Linked DNA regions of Homo sapiens: regions 2 and 3 are each linked to region 1. Evidence: promoter capture Hi-C in human tissues and cell types (Jung and others, 2019). All regions are on one chromosome and are shown on one strand. The core of a region is centred on a gene start or on the middle of the fragment in contact, and the rest is flanking DNA. Distances in the headings are between cores, read along the strand shown. Region 1 holds the start of PTN (pleiotrophin). Region 2 overlaps LOC349160 (a long non-coding RNA gene). Region 3 has its middle 130 kb from the start of PTN.

Region 1 (4,258 bases), core at 944-3,443:
AATATCTCATTTAAAGTCAGATAATTAAAAAGTCATGTATCTAATAGTACTTTTATTTATCTCAAGCTCTAGCTTTGAGAACATAATGCATTTGCATCCAGAAGCAAACAGCTGGAACACAGCACCTAATGCTGTTATATGTGGCTTCAGGTGGGAGTTCCTTATAGTGGCTTTTCACTAAATGCAGAAAAAGATGTCCTAAAGGGAACCAGTGAGCAGTGGCAGAAAAAAGATCACCTTCTATTTATTTAAAGTACAATTAGAGAACTTAAGGCCCAAGTTTCTTAAAGCACAAAAGGATGGCATTAGAGTTTTTTTTAAATAATATAATTTTTTAAAATCTCATCTTCTAATTTAAATGAAAAAGTACAAATATTGCCAGTCTGAAATAACTCATGTCCCAAAGGAAGAAAAAAATATTCATTCTAATTTCCTCTGAATTTAACTGGACTATATTTTTTAAACGACTTGGCCTTTAAAGTGCATAATTTACTTAAAAGGAAACATAATGAAGATGGAAAATACAGCTTTATTTTCTGTGTTGGGAGACTTCTCTTTTGTTTCATTGTCATTAACTTTCAATATTTCTACATATCAATGCATTCCCGGATAATTAAGGGGCTAAAATGGGCCCTGCTGTTTCATCAATTCCACATTTGCCTAGGATCATAAAATGTTTCATTATGTTATTAGTCCAGAGCTCTTTTTGGTGATTTCTAAATCTCCTCCCAGACCCCTCTCTCTAGCACACACACACGCACATGCACACGCACACACACACATCACCCCTTTCTCAAGCTGCTAAAGCAAAATGCCTGATAACTCTTAAAATGAGAGATGCTCAAGGACCGCAGCTTTAATATTTTCTCCTCTTAGCACCCCTACCCCTCCTATTTTCTGAATGTGTCCCCAAACTTACAAAGCAGCTCTTAACAGACACAAGGGTGAGTTAACACTAGAGTGTATATAAACTGCATGTGTGTGTTCCTGTGTGTGTGTGTGTGTGTGTTGTGTCACATTATGTCATGGAGAAAGGGGTGTGTGTGTATGGAGAGGAGAGAGGAGGTTTCACTTTCCATCTATTAAGAAAGGAGTTGAATACATTCCTCTCAAAAAATGTTTTCTTAACTTATTAGAAACAACAACTCAGAAACTCTAAATATCTAGTAAATTAGTAACAAATATATCCTAAATTTATGTGGGTCAAATTAAAAGTTTAAGGGTCTATGTACTGGGCAGTTCTTTAAATTTGCATTCAAATGAGAGATGGGACTCCAGGTGTGTCTTCTAAACTTTGGACCTAACCATTTCTGGAACCATTCCTGGGCTGTCAGGTGGGAAGACGGGTGCCAGTAGTTCCGTGAGAGACGTTTCATGTCAGCTAGCACTGGGAGGAACAAGCCCCCACAGCTTACCTAGAAATGCCAGCTAAGAGTCATGGGCTGACAGGCTCTGGGGCAATCAGAGAATCAGAGAGAGGCTGGGAAAATGAGAGCTGCTTGTTCAGGCTGCCTTACTTTCTTTGCACCTACCCAGCCAGAGACACACCTACTAAAGCTCCAGGTTTTACAAAAAGCAAAGATGCACTCTCCAGCCCACCCTGTCTTGCTCTCCAGCTGGTAGCTGGAACACGGTCCAAATACATGCTTAACATCACAAAAACTTCTTTCCTTTCACTTACCTAAGCACACCCGAACTAACCTAACCTGAAACCCCAAAAATATGCCTCCCTTGGCCTCTGGAGCAAGTCAGTTTTGAAAGCAGTCCTATCAGCAAAGACACCAGGCAGCCTCTCTCACCCCTACCACCATCATCTGCTGGCACCCAGAAAAGTGGCACAGGGTGAAGGCAAACTCGATCGAAGAGCCCTCCGAGAAATCGTACGTTCCTCTCACTTACTTTGAGTTGGAAACGTCCTCTCTGGCGCTCAGTCTGCCTTTGTTGCAAGGGGCGAGGTTGCTACCGCTGAGTCCAGGTACCCGGCTCGCTGCAGCTCCTGCTTGGGCCGCTGCTGCTCTCCCCGCCTTCTGGACGGATGACTCACTGGTCTCTTTCTTCCCCTCTCTCCACTTTGGATTTTCCTCTGCTCTGGGGCTCTCTTGGCGGGATTTTTGGACTGGAAGGCGGGGAACCTGATCCTGCCTTTGACTCAATTACGCCCTGACAGGGAGGGAACGGAAGGGAAATGGAGAATGGGAGGGATGAGAGGAGCGGGCCAGGAGGACGAAGGCTGGGCGAGGGAGGGAGAGCGCTTTGCACTCGAGAGCTGATTGGGAAGCTTATTAAAAGCAGAATACTCCAGGGGCAGTCTCTCCCTGCGGAGCAAGAAAACGGATTTGAACCAAGAGGCCATGAGATGGTACCTTGTTTTGTTTTTAGCAGAGACGAAACACAACATTTCTTTTCCAAACTCCACCCATGATCTATTCTTCAGATGAGTGCAAAGCCACTTTGCCAAATAGGATATTTTAAATGGACAATTGATGGCATTTTAGGTTACATTTTTGGCCCCCCACAATCCTTTAATGATATTCAGAATGGAAAAGCACTCTCTTCAAACCAGCCTCTTCTTCCACCCACGAAAGCCCTCTCTAAACACAGAGACAGTAAGGTGTCAGTCACATCTCACCTGCAAAGCACAAAATGTACAAAGTACTTTTTCTCAATTGTCACAAAGAGTGACAGACGTCTCAAAGTTCCCAATTAAGTGCTACTTACCTTTAGGGAGAGCTCTTTCCTTTTTTGGTTTCCTTGGTGCCTTTAGCAACCTATTTAGTAACATGCCTTTGACACCCAAGAATTTAGAGGATTCGTCAAAGTAGCTCAAACTCTGAGGTTTGTAAAACTTGGAGGCTGGGCTTTGCGTCTCTGGAATTGTCATTTCATTCAATACAGGAAAGACGCTAAGGCAATGCATAGGTAAATATTTATGATAAAGATGAGATAAAAGTATTGTGTAAAAGGATTAAGATGTATTATACAAATTCACCCAAACATTTTCGAAATGTAAATTTCGAGATTTTCTGCCACTTATCAGCTTTTCCTGCTCCGTGGCTAGCTCCTTTTACCTACTTTTACCTTTACTGGTCAGCTTATCATTTGATGGCGTCCTTCCCAAATTGGTTGTAAAATAGACCACATTTTTCATAATTCTGAGGTTACATCCCTTCATTTCAATTTGACAAATATTTATTAAGCAATTTGTTTACTTAGAACTATCCTTAAATCCCCAAATTAGAAGCATTGTCTTGTGGCAAGTAGTTTTTAGGGACTTGGGGCTCTTCTATTGACAGCTACCTGTAGAAATGTCCCTTGGAGAAGTTGACTGGAGCCAGACGTGGCTCTACAAACTCAATCAAGCAGTCAATCAAGCTTTTCAAAAGGAAAGGCATCAGAGATGCACTTACACACCTACAATTTATCCCCCTTCCCAAACTCTTCATATACATACCACATACAATTCTCAAATGAAATAACTAAATAAGGAAGCTGTGTTCCTTTCTCCTACACACAGGCTTCAGGTTACCTGTTTTCCTTTTGTGATTCCACTTCTGTGTGAAGCAAGCAGTGCTTGTTTTAATCAGATTTCACCTGTATAAAGTGTGGAGAAACGCACATTAGCATTTTTTTTTGGCATTTTTCCCAGTCCCTTTACCAAAAAAGATATCTCAGCATTCTATTAACACTCCATAGGGGCAAAGTTTCTAAGGCATTGAACAAAGAGCTATCCATTTTCTTTCTGTTCTTCAGCTTTATGTTAACATATACAAATGTAACATACAGCTAGCTACCAGTTAGGTGAACAATGCTGGCTTGATTGAGGTGTTCTCTATAGGGCTGATAAAGTAAGCATGAGATTCCCATGATTTCTACTCAATTACATATGTTACACCAAAAATATCACCCTTTATTCAGATGGGTATATACTAAAATTGTATACATCAGTGATTATCAATTGGGAGCAGTTTTGCCCTCCAGGAAAAGGGAATAATGTCTGGAGGTAGTCTTGGTTGTCGCAACTTGGTGGAAGGGGTTGCTCTGGATCTAGTGGGTAGAAGCCGGGGATGCTGTAAAACATCATACAATGCATAGGACAGCCTTTGTTACCAGAAAGCGGTCCCGGTCCAGACCCCAAGAGAGGGTTCTTGGATCTCAGTTGCAAGAAAGAATTCAGGGCAAGTTCATAGAGTAAAGTGAAAGCAAGTTAATTAGAGAGGTAAAGGAATAAAGAATAGCTAGCTACTCCATAGGCAAAGCA
Region 2 (4,258 bases), core at 786-3,285, 200 kb before region 1:
CAAGAATGTAGTCCCAGCCTACCAAAAAAATAAAAACAAGAAAATTAGAGCAGGTGATAGAAAACCAGGGTCAGAACAAAACTGACAATTAAGGGTTGCAGATAACTGCAAACCAAGAGTCAGAGACTTGAGAGCAATGTCAACAAAGGTAGAGGAATTTGGGACTAATACATCAGCGAATTACTGGGATCTTCAGAATCAAAACAAAAATGAAATAGGAAGCATTCACAAGGTTTAAACTTGAAAAAGTATGTCTGGATCAAAGCATCTATTTGCAGATAATTACCCCCAAGTTTCTGTCTACAATCACTAACTTTAATCAAATGATCCTCTGATATGCCCGTGCTCACATAGGCCTTGCTCTTCTGGCCCTGCAATACTTTGGACCAGAAAACAGATTGATGCAATGAAGGGAGGAGAATCAGAATGAACAGTTTAATTAAAATAACATTTTTAGCTGAATTCTCAAGGTATTTACGTCTAAACCAGATATCTTTCTCTCTTTCTCTTTTTTTTCTTTCTTTCCTTTTTTTTTTTTAGACAGAGTCTCACTCTGTCACCCACGCTGGAGGACAGTGGCACGATTTCAGCTCACTGCAGCCTCTGCCTTCCCAGTTCAAGTGATTCTTGTAGCCTCCTGAGTAGCTGGGATTATAGGCATGTGCCGCCATGGCCAGCTAATTTTTTTTTTTTTTTTTTTTTTTTTTAGTAGAGACAGGGTTTCACCATGTTGGCCAAGATGGTCTTGAACTTCTGACCTCAAGTGATCCACTCTCCTTGGCCTCCCAAAGTGCTGGGATTAGAGCCGTGAGCCATCACGCCCAGCCCCAGAGAGCTTTCTTACTTGAAATTCTTGTTTCTATCTATGCTTTGGCTTTTCTTACCATTTTGATGTGTTCTTGGTATCACCTTGAAAAGCCCTGTTACTGGTTTCTCCTTTCTCATCCCGTGATTCAGCTCCATGGATAGCAGACTAGAGTTGTAGCCTACATAAGAATGTGGCTATAATTTTGCATATCCTTGGCTTCTCACTCTGCCCAGTCTTTATTTCACAGTAGCAGCAATCACATATTGACAAGACGTATTGTTTAGAAGACTTTTCTAAGACTTACAGAAAGTGCTTGCTAGAAGTATGTCTTGGATTATAATATCATTATTAATACAGCAATAGTGTTTAAAGAGTATTCCAGGATTCCAATGAATGTATTTTAGGCAACAGAGTTAAGAGCTCTTGTCCAACTGGGCTTGTTGAACTGTATCTCTAGTCATCATTGTCCCATTTGTTCTTAATAGAGTTATCACTTGAATGAAATGAAATTCTAAGCAAAATAAAATAATTTGAGTTAGGTCAGGAAGAGAAGTTCTGATTTGAGAAAGCTACATAGAGTTCAGAGAAGCTGAGAGAATCTAGAGAATCTCTGGGTTCTTCGTTCTTCCCACTCACTACACAATATACACAGAAATTTACCCTTAAAATTTCATCTCTCACTTTTTTCTTATCATTAATATTTTTTTCCTATTTCACCATTTTCCTGAATTCTGTTTATATTTAGTCTTACTACAGAACTTACTGGCTACTAGGTTGTAATTTAGAAGGACATTTCCTTGCAGATATATTCTGGAAGATGTCACTATCAGCAGCAGAAATTCAGCTGTCCTGACCAATAAGAAACATTCCGTTGGTCTTTGCACAAGAATGTGCCCACTTGGACTGTTTAATGAATTGTAGGTCTCACAAATTGCAGCCACTGTGTCTAAGGAATGTTCTCTCTCATTAAACAAATTATATTATTTCTAGGCCTCCCCCACACTCAAAACATACTCAATTTTCTTAATGACTCTGTAAGACAAGGTTTAGATAATACAGAAGGCATGGATATAGTATGATACTGAGGTCATAACAAATATTCAAAGTGACTCATGGAGTGTTAGCCACAGGGATTTGCCTCCTCTCTGAGGGATTTTGTTTTTGTAGGTTCACTCATAAAGATTAAAAGAAATAGGCAATGGGATAGTAAACTGGAAAATATATTTGAAGACATAATTCAATTTCTATCCAGTGGCAAAAAAAAAAAAAAACCAGCTAAGACGTTATAATATTGTCTCTGCCTTTTAATTCTCTAAGTGAAACCAGACTATCATGTAATAAATCTACTTTAAAGTGATTCTTTTAAAGGTAAAAAGTTGAAGGTAACCACAGAGAAGAATTTTAACCTTATGAGTAATAATCTAAAATGGTTTTTGTATTTATGTCTAAAACGAATGCATTGTCGGAGCAATCTGACCACGCAAATTCCTGTTACTGACGGGCAGAGCTGGGATTCCTGTTGTAAGCCTGATGTGGCTGTCTTCCTCTCCCTGTTCCATTTCTAGAAGTTGTAATGTTAAGATGCCACAATGCCTGCTGATGGTACTAGACAGAGTATTGCAGATGTTCTTTGAATACAAATACTGCCTGCCTCACATACCCGTGAGAATAGCTGCAGAATGGAGGCCATGATTAGAGGATGGAATTCAATGACCATTACTCCTGCTTATGTTATTAATTAGAAACATTCTACACATAAACAAGAGTTTCGGAGGAGCCTGTTATTAATGTAACAAAGAGATCTTTTCAGTATCTGCCATTTACACACACACGGTTCTCAGTGATTCCCAGAAATTGTTAGTAAAATCAAGTTGTTTAGAGCGCATGGCCAGATTTTTCTCATTTCCCAACCTCTGTGCAGAGCATGCTGGAATGAGTTATTGAGGGAAACTCTAAGAATAGAAATACTATTAATTCATGCATGTATAAAGTGCTTAACAGCTTACAAAACACATGCATACCTGCTACCTCATTAATCTTCACAACCATAAGAGATATGTTACTGATATTATTGCCATTTTACAAAGAAGAAAAAAAGGAGGTTTGGGAAGCATAAATAACTTTATAGGATCACATGGCTATTAAAAAGTGGAGTTGGAGCTACCATTTATATTTTTGATTGCAAGTGTGGGGAGTATCTACACTGAACTAAAAAATGACCAGCTAGCTCCAAAATAGAAAATACCTATAATTAGGCATGGTCCTCTCTGAACATAGCAAGTTATCTTTGCTGAATGCTAGATGTACATTCCACGCATAGAAGCAGAGAGGGCATTGGTGGAATTTGGTGCCTCTCCAAGCAGTGCTCCTTAGAATGCGATTCACATATTGGGTTGGTCTGCTGTTCGTAACTGGTCTCAAAGGAGATAAGTGCCAACATGGAGAGTAAGCATTTGGAATGTGGCATGGCAACTTCACAGAGTAAATCTGTATCTGTTGAATGACAAAAAATTGGAGTTTATATTTTGAATGTCCTTTTAAAAAAGTTTTATATTTTGTATTCATTTATGTTTATTGTATTTTACAAAAGGAGCAGCCCACAAGAAATTGTGGGAAGAAAATGGTTCCTCTCCCAGTTTTGCGTGCATGAGAAGCTCCACTTCAGGGGAGACTCACCTTGCCAAACTAGAGAATGCATCTGTGTTCAAATTCCTCAGGGCATCCTTAACAAGCTGTGTTCCACTCCACTGAATTGGCTTCCCGTGGATTCTCTCTGAAGGGCCCCTACATATTGTTTCCTGAGGAAACCTGAGTTTACACCAACATATCCTTGTCTGTAATGACCACTTCTGAAGAGTGGTTGCATTAGTTTTCTCTTGCTGTGTAAAAAGTTAGCCCAAACTCACTGGCTTATAACAACACCCATCTATTATCTTACAGTTTTGGTAGGTCAGAAGGCAGGGCACACATAACTGAGTCCCCTGCTCAAGGCCTCACAAGGTTGAAATCGACATGTTGGTAGGACTGCATTTTCATCTGGAGTTCAAGGTGCTCTTCCAACTCAGGTATGTTGCTGGCAGAATTCAATTTCTTGTGGCTGTAGGACGGAAGCCCTGTTTTCTTGCTGTCAGCCAAGGAGTGCCCTCAGGTCCTAGAAGCTGCCTCAGGTCTTAGCCAAATGGAGCTCACCAGAGGCAGTTCACCACATTTGTTTTCTTCCAAAGGAGTGGGAGAGAGATTCCAGTGTGTGACCTTCTTTTAAAAGGGTTACCTGATCAGGTTAGGCCCACCCAGGACAATCTCCCTTTTGATTAGCTCAAAGCCAACTGATTAATAGCCTAATCAATGACCTGGTATCCTGTTATGTTCATTGGTCCCAACAACAGTGAAACCGAGAAGATTATACCTGGCATGTATGTTCAGATGAGAATTTAGGGTGCATTTTAGAAT
Region 3 (4,258 bases), core at 446-2,945, 130 kb before region 1:
CATGTTTATAACAAAGTACAAACAAAAAGTACAACAGAAAATATAATATGGCAAAATTCATAGCTGCTATTAATGTATGCATTAAGGCATATTAATGTGGAAGTTACTGCACAGATACAATTCAAGGTTGATATTTGTACATATTACCTACTTAAGGGCATTGGAAGATTCATTTTCTTATTCTGTGTTTTATAGCTGTTATTCAACCTAATAATTTATACGTGACTAGCAGAATGGAGTCCAGTGGTCTTGATTTAAATATGGCTAATTACTATAGTATATATTTATATAGCTTTGAGTTTATATAATTTTTATTTCACATAACGGTGGGTGGAAAAGCAACTAACATGTTATTATTGATACAATTCCTATGTTCTTCTGTTGTGAGTGTCTTCGGACATGTTACATAACCTCTCTGCATGTTAGTTTTCTTAACTATAAAATGAAGCTCTTATTAGCCCTCATATCTCAGAATTGTTGTTAGAATTAAAGAGATAATCCAAAATAAGTACTTATAACAGAATTTTGAACCTAGTAGGCACTCAATAAAGTTATTATTAATATTGTTTTCAAAGCGTTCTACATTTTTGAAATTTATTATAGAATTTGATTTATAGGAAAGGAAAAGTATTTTTAAATATTATTATTTACTATTATTAATGTCCACCCACCAGAATTTGTCACATCAGCAAATGTGCATAATATATAATTGTACATAACTTTCTATGTATTAAAAAGGTTGAACATGAGAAACGTTCAACTGAGAATTAAGAATTGAGAATTAAGCAATTAGATGGTAAAGTGTAAGAATTGGCAGATGGGGATTGGGTTATGAAATCTATCCTGAACAGAGATTTTAACATACCTTTTTAGAGCACAAAATTGTTGACAACTAAATCAATATATAACACAGAATAATGAGTATAAAGGAAGCTGGCTAAAGAATTGGAAGAGTCTGTAATCCCAGCACTTTCGGAGGCCGAGGCAGGTGGATGACTTGAGGTCAGGAGTTCAAGACCAGCCTGGCCAACATGGCAAAACTCCATCTCTACAAAAGTACAAAACTTAGCCAGGTATGGTGGCACACACCTGTAATCCCAGCTACTCAGGAGGCTGAGGCAGGATAATCGCTTGAACTCTGGAGGCGGAGGTTGCAGTGAGCTGAGATTGTGCCATTGTACTCCAACCTGAGTGACAGAGGGAAACTCCATCTCAAAAAAAAAAAAAAAAAGAATTGGAACAAAACACTATGGTTAATCTAGTGCAAAGAGGACAGAGGAACCAACGGCACTACGGAGAAAAGAAAGTGGTATATTTGGGGCCTGGCATGGAAGACAGGCTAGTGTTTGGGAAAAAAAGGCAGGCCCCTGTCTGAAAACGTAGTGAATAGGACCACTACAGTGTGCAATTGACATAGATGCATTACACCTCTCTAGTCTTGCCTATGCTTGTGGCCTTCATTAGAACAGGGCTCTTAATTAATGGGTACCCGAAGTGAATTTGGGGCACATGACTTAAGCAGGGAGGAAAAACATGCTTATTTTCACTCATCTCTAACTAAACTGAGTTTCAACATTTTCTTCCATTGCAAATGTGGATAATAAACCACGACGTTACTTTTTATTTTTTTCATACCTAGAAGTTGCAGATTATCTTGTTAGAGTTTTCACAAATATATATAAAAGTATCATCTGTATGTATCACTACTTTCAGTAATTCTAGACCCTGTCATTTCATGTGTTAATAATAAAGCAAAATACTTCCTTATCAAAAATTTGTTTTCTTAATATGGTGACAACTCTATTTCAATGTCATTGAAATAATTTATAATCCAATATAATTTATCTCTAGCATTTAAAAACACTATTCTGTGAAGGGGTATGTAGGGTTCTCCAGACTGCCAAAGCGGGTCATGGAGCAAAAACTTCTCAGAACTCATACGTTACAATTAGCAGTTTGGTTTTAGCAACTCCCACCCCTCTCTCTATCAAATTAGTTCTCCGACAGTCTCCATTGAGCTCCAGCTATTAATTCGTATTATGTATCTCTAGGATTCTTAGGTAAATGGTTCCTATTGTTGTATGTGGACAAGATTAATAATTTTTACATCCCCTTTTTCTGTTTTTCTTTACTCTCTCTTTTGTCCATTTTCATTCCATTAAAATAAATTCCCTATCTCAGCACACAACTGAAGATGAAGGAGACAAATTCAAGTAGTTAGGGAAGATTCAGAACAGCTTATATCTGGAAGTAGGGAGCTCCACAAAGGGATGAAAGTTGCCAAAAGGAAGGAAAAGAAAGGTAGGTTAGGAGGGAGGAGACGGAGTTTCAGACAGTACTGTAGGAGGAAAGACGAGCAGAGCAGACAGAACCCAGAACCTAGAAGATAGAGGAGGAGTAGCCAGAGGTTGCCCAGAAGCTGATATCAAGGAAGTCCAACAAGAAGTAAAATGTAACCCAGAGGACATGGCAGCAGGTATTCTAAGATCAGGCAAAAATACAGCAGAGATATACCTTAAAACCTGGAGATAAAATTTGCATCACACAAGTCTGTCCAGAGCTGGTAAGGGATTCAGAACAAACCTGCCCCTGAGTTGATGATGGTACCTGAGGGGAGGGGAATTAAAAGAAAAAACAGAGTCCAGTCTTATAAGGATTAGAATACTGGGCTGAGTTTGAACCAGGGAGTAGGAGGTTGCAGTGAGCCGAGATCGTGCCTCTGCACTCTAGCCTGGCGACACAGCACACAGCAAAACTCCGTCTCAAAAAAAAAAGAATACTGGGCTGAATATAAGAAAGTTAATTAAAGACAGAGTAGAAAAGGGTAATAAGCTGGAAACTCTCTCAGGTACAACACATGACCCTAATTCTTATACCTGGGGCGCAATGTGAGCATGACAGAAGTAAGACTGGCTTGATGCTGAATTTTCCATTAAATCAGATCATTTTAAATAACTGAGGAAAGGATGGTTCACAAAGCTTACACTGTGACTGAGTCTTCTAGTCTGGGTGACCTGATTTATGTTAATGGGAATGGAGGTATATGGAAGCAGGACACCAGGAAGTTTATGACAACTTGTCAGCTCTCGAAATCGGCTTTACTCTCTGAGCAGTATCCACTTTGTATGACATTAGGCCCCCAATGCATGAAGCAAAATGTGTTATTAAGTCAGATCTCCTCGGATCACAAAGAAAATAGTATGGCAACAGTGATGGAAGCAGAGAAAAAGCAATAATCGAGTGAGAAAATAATTGGGTGGCCAGAGGCAAAATCTATGACAGATCCAAATGGCCTTCATTATTTCTCAGTTGGAAAATTCCAATAACTTCCTAAATTGCCTTCCCATCTTAAGTGCTTCACTATTCAAATTTATATTATAAGCCACTTCCAGGTGACAGACTAAAATTCTTCAAGTGTAAACACTGTCACTCACTTCAGTCTTAGTAGAAATACTAATAACTCTTCATTGCCTAATAAGCTCCTTTTCTTTGCATTCACATTTCTGTACAGGACAGACATTGACACATGTCAGTGTGTACTTCCCACTATTTCTTATTGTTCAATATTTTAATATTGAATATGTAAAATAATTTAATTTTTAATATGTTAATACTTCATTTTTAATATTTCATTTTTATTTCTACAAGTGTGCCTTTCTTTGAATAACTGCCCTACTTAATCCATTTCTGTCGGATTCCGATGGGCTGCTGATTGGTTTGGCTCTGTGTCCCCACCCAAATATCACCTTTATTGTAATAATCCCCACGTATTGTGGGAGGGACCTGGTGGGAGGTAATTGAATCATGGGGGTGGGTTTTCCCATGCTGTTCTCATGATAGTGAATAAGTCTCACGAGAGCTGATGGTTTCATAAAAGGGAGTTCCCCTGCTCATGCCCTCTTGCCTTCTGCCATGTAAGATGTGCCTTTGCTTCTCCTTTGCCTTCTGCCATGATTGTGAGGCCTCCCTAGCCATGTGGTGCGAGTCCATTAAACGCCTTTCCTTTATGAATTACCCAGTCTCAGGTATGTCTTTATTAGCAGCGTGAGAAACAGACCAATACAGCCGGCAATCTGAAGACCATCAAGTTTTGACAACAGGGGTGCCACACAGTCCAAGTTAGGCCAACCAGAGTTGCTTTCTCAGGAGGAATATCCCAAGAATGCAAAGACACACGGGGACCAAAATTGATTGGAACTGAGTCATGTGAGAAATTCTTGAGATGCTGAGATGCTCAAAGTACATGTGTCTTTTATCT

The links. Contacts are between HindIII fragments. The study calls those that stand out against the background at their distance.
Region 2: a fragment that was not itself captured here is called in contact with the fragment with the promoter of PTN in region 1 in 2 of the 25 tissues and cell types used here (mesenchymal stem cells and mesendoderm cells).
Region 3: a fragment that was not itself captured here is called in contact with the fragment with the promoter of PTN in region 1 in 3 of the 25 tissues and cell types used here (dorsolateral prefrontal cortex, liver and spleen).

What each region holds. Positions count from the first base shown.
Region 1 is chr7:137,341,540-137,345,797 of GRCh38, forward strand. It overlaps PTN (pleiotrophin), which reads right to left and starts at 2,194. Exons shown (of 5, transcript NM_002825.7): 1 at 1,900-2,194. RefSeq lists promoters at 1,988-4,152, 1,988-2,733 and a cis regulatory region at 2,737-2,746. The HindIII fragment of the contact is 6,839 bases long and covers 198-4,258 here.
Region 2 is chr7:137,144,394-137,148,651 of GRCh38, forward strand. The region is part of intron 1 of LOC349160 (a long non-coding RNA gene); the gene reads right to left. Among named protein-coding and RNA genes, the nearest start is that of PTN, 200 kb to the right of the region's middle. The HindIII fragment of the contact is 6,054 bases long and covers 1-4,258 here.
Region 3 is chr7:137,213,230-137,217,487 of GRCh38, forward strand. No RefSeq gene overlaps it. Among named protein-coding and RNA genes, the nearest start is that of PTN, 130 kb to the right of the region's middle. The HindIII fragment of the contact is 6,151 bases long and covers 1-4,258 here.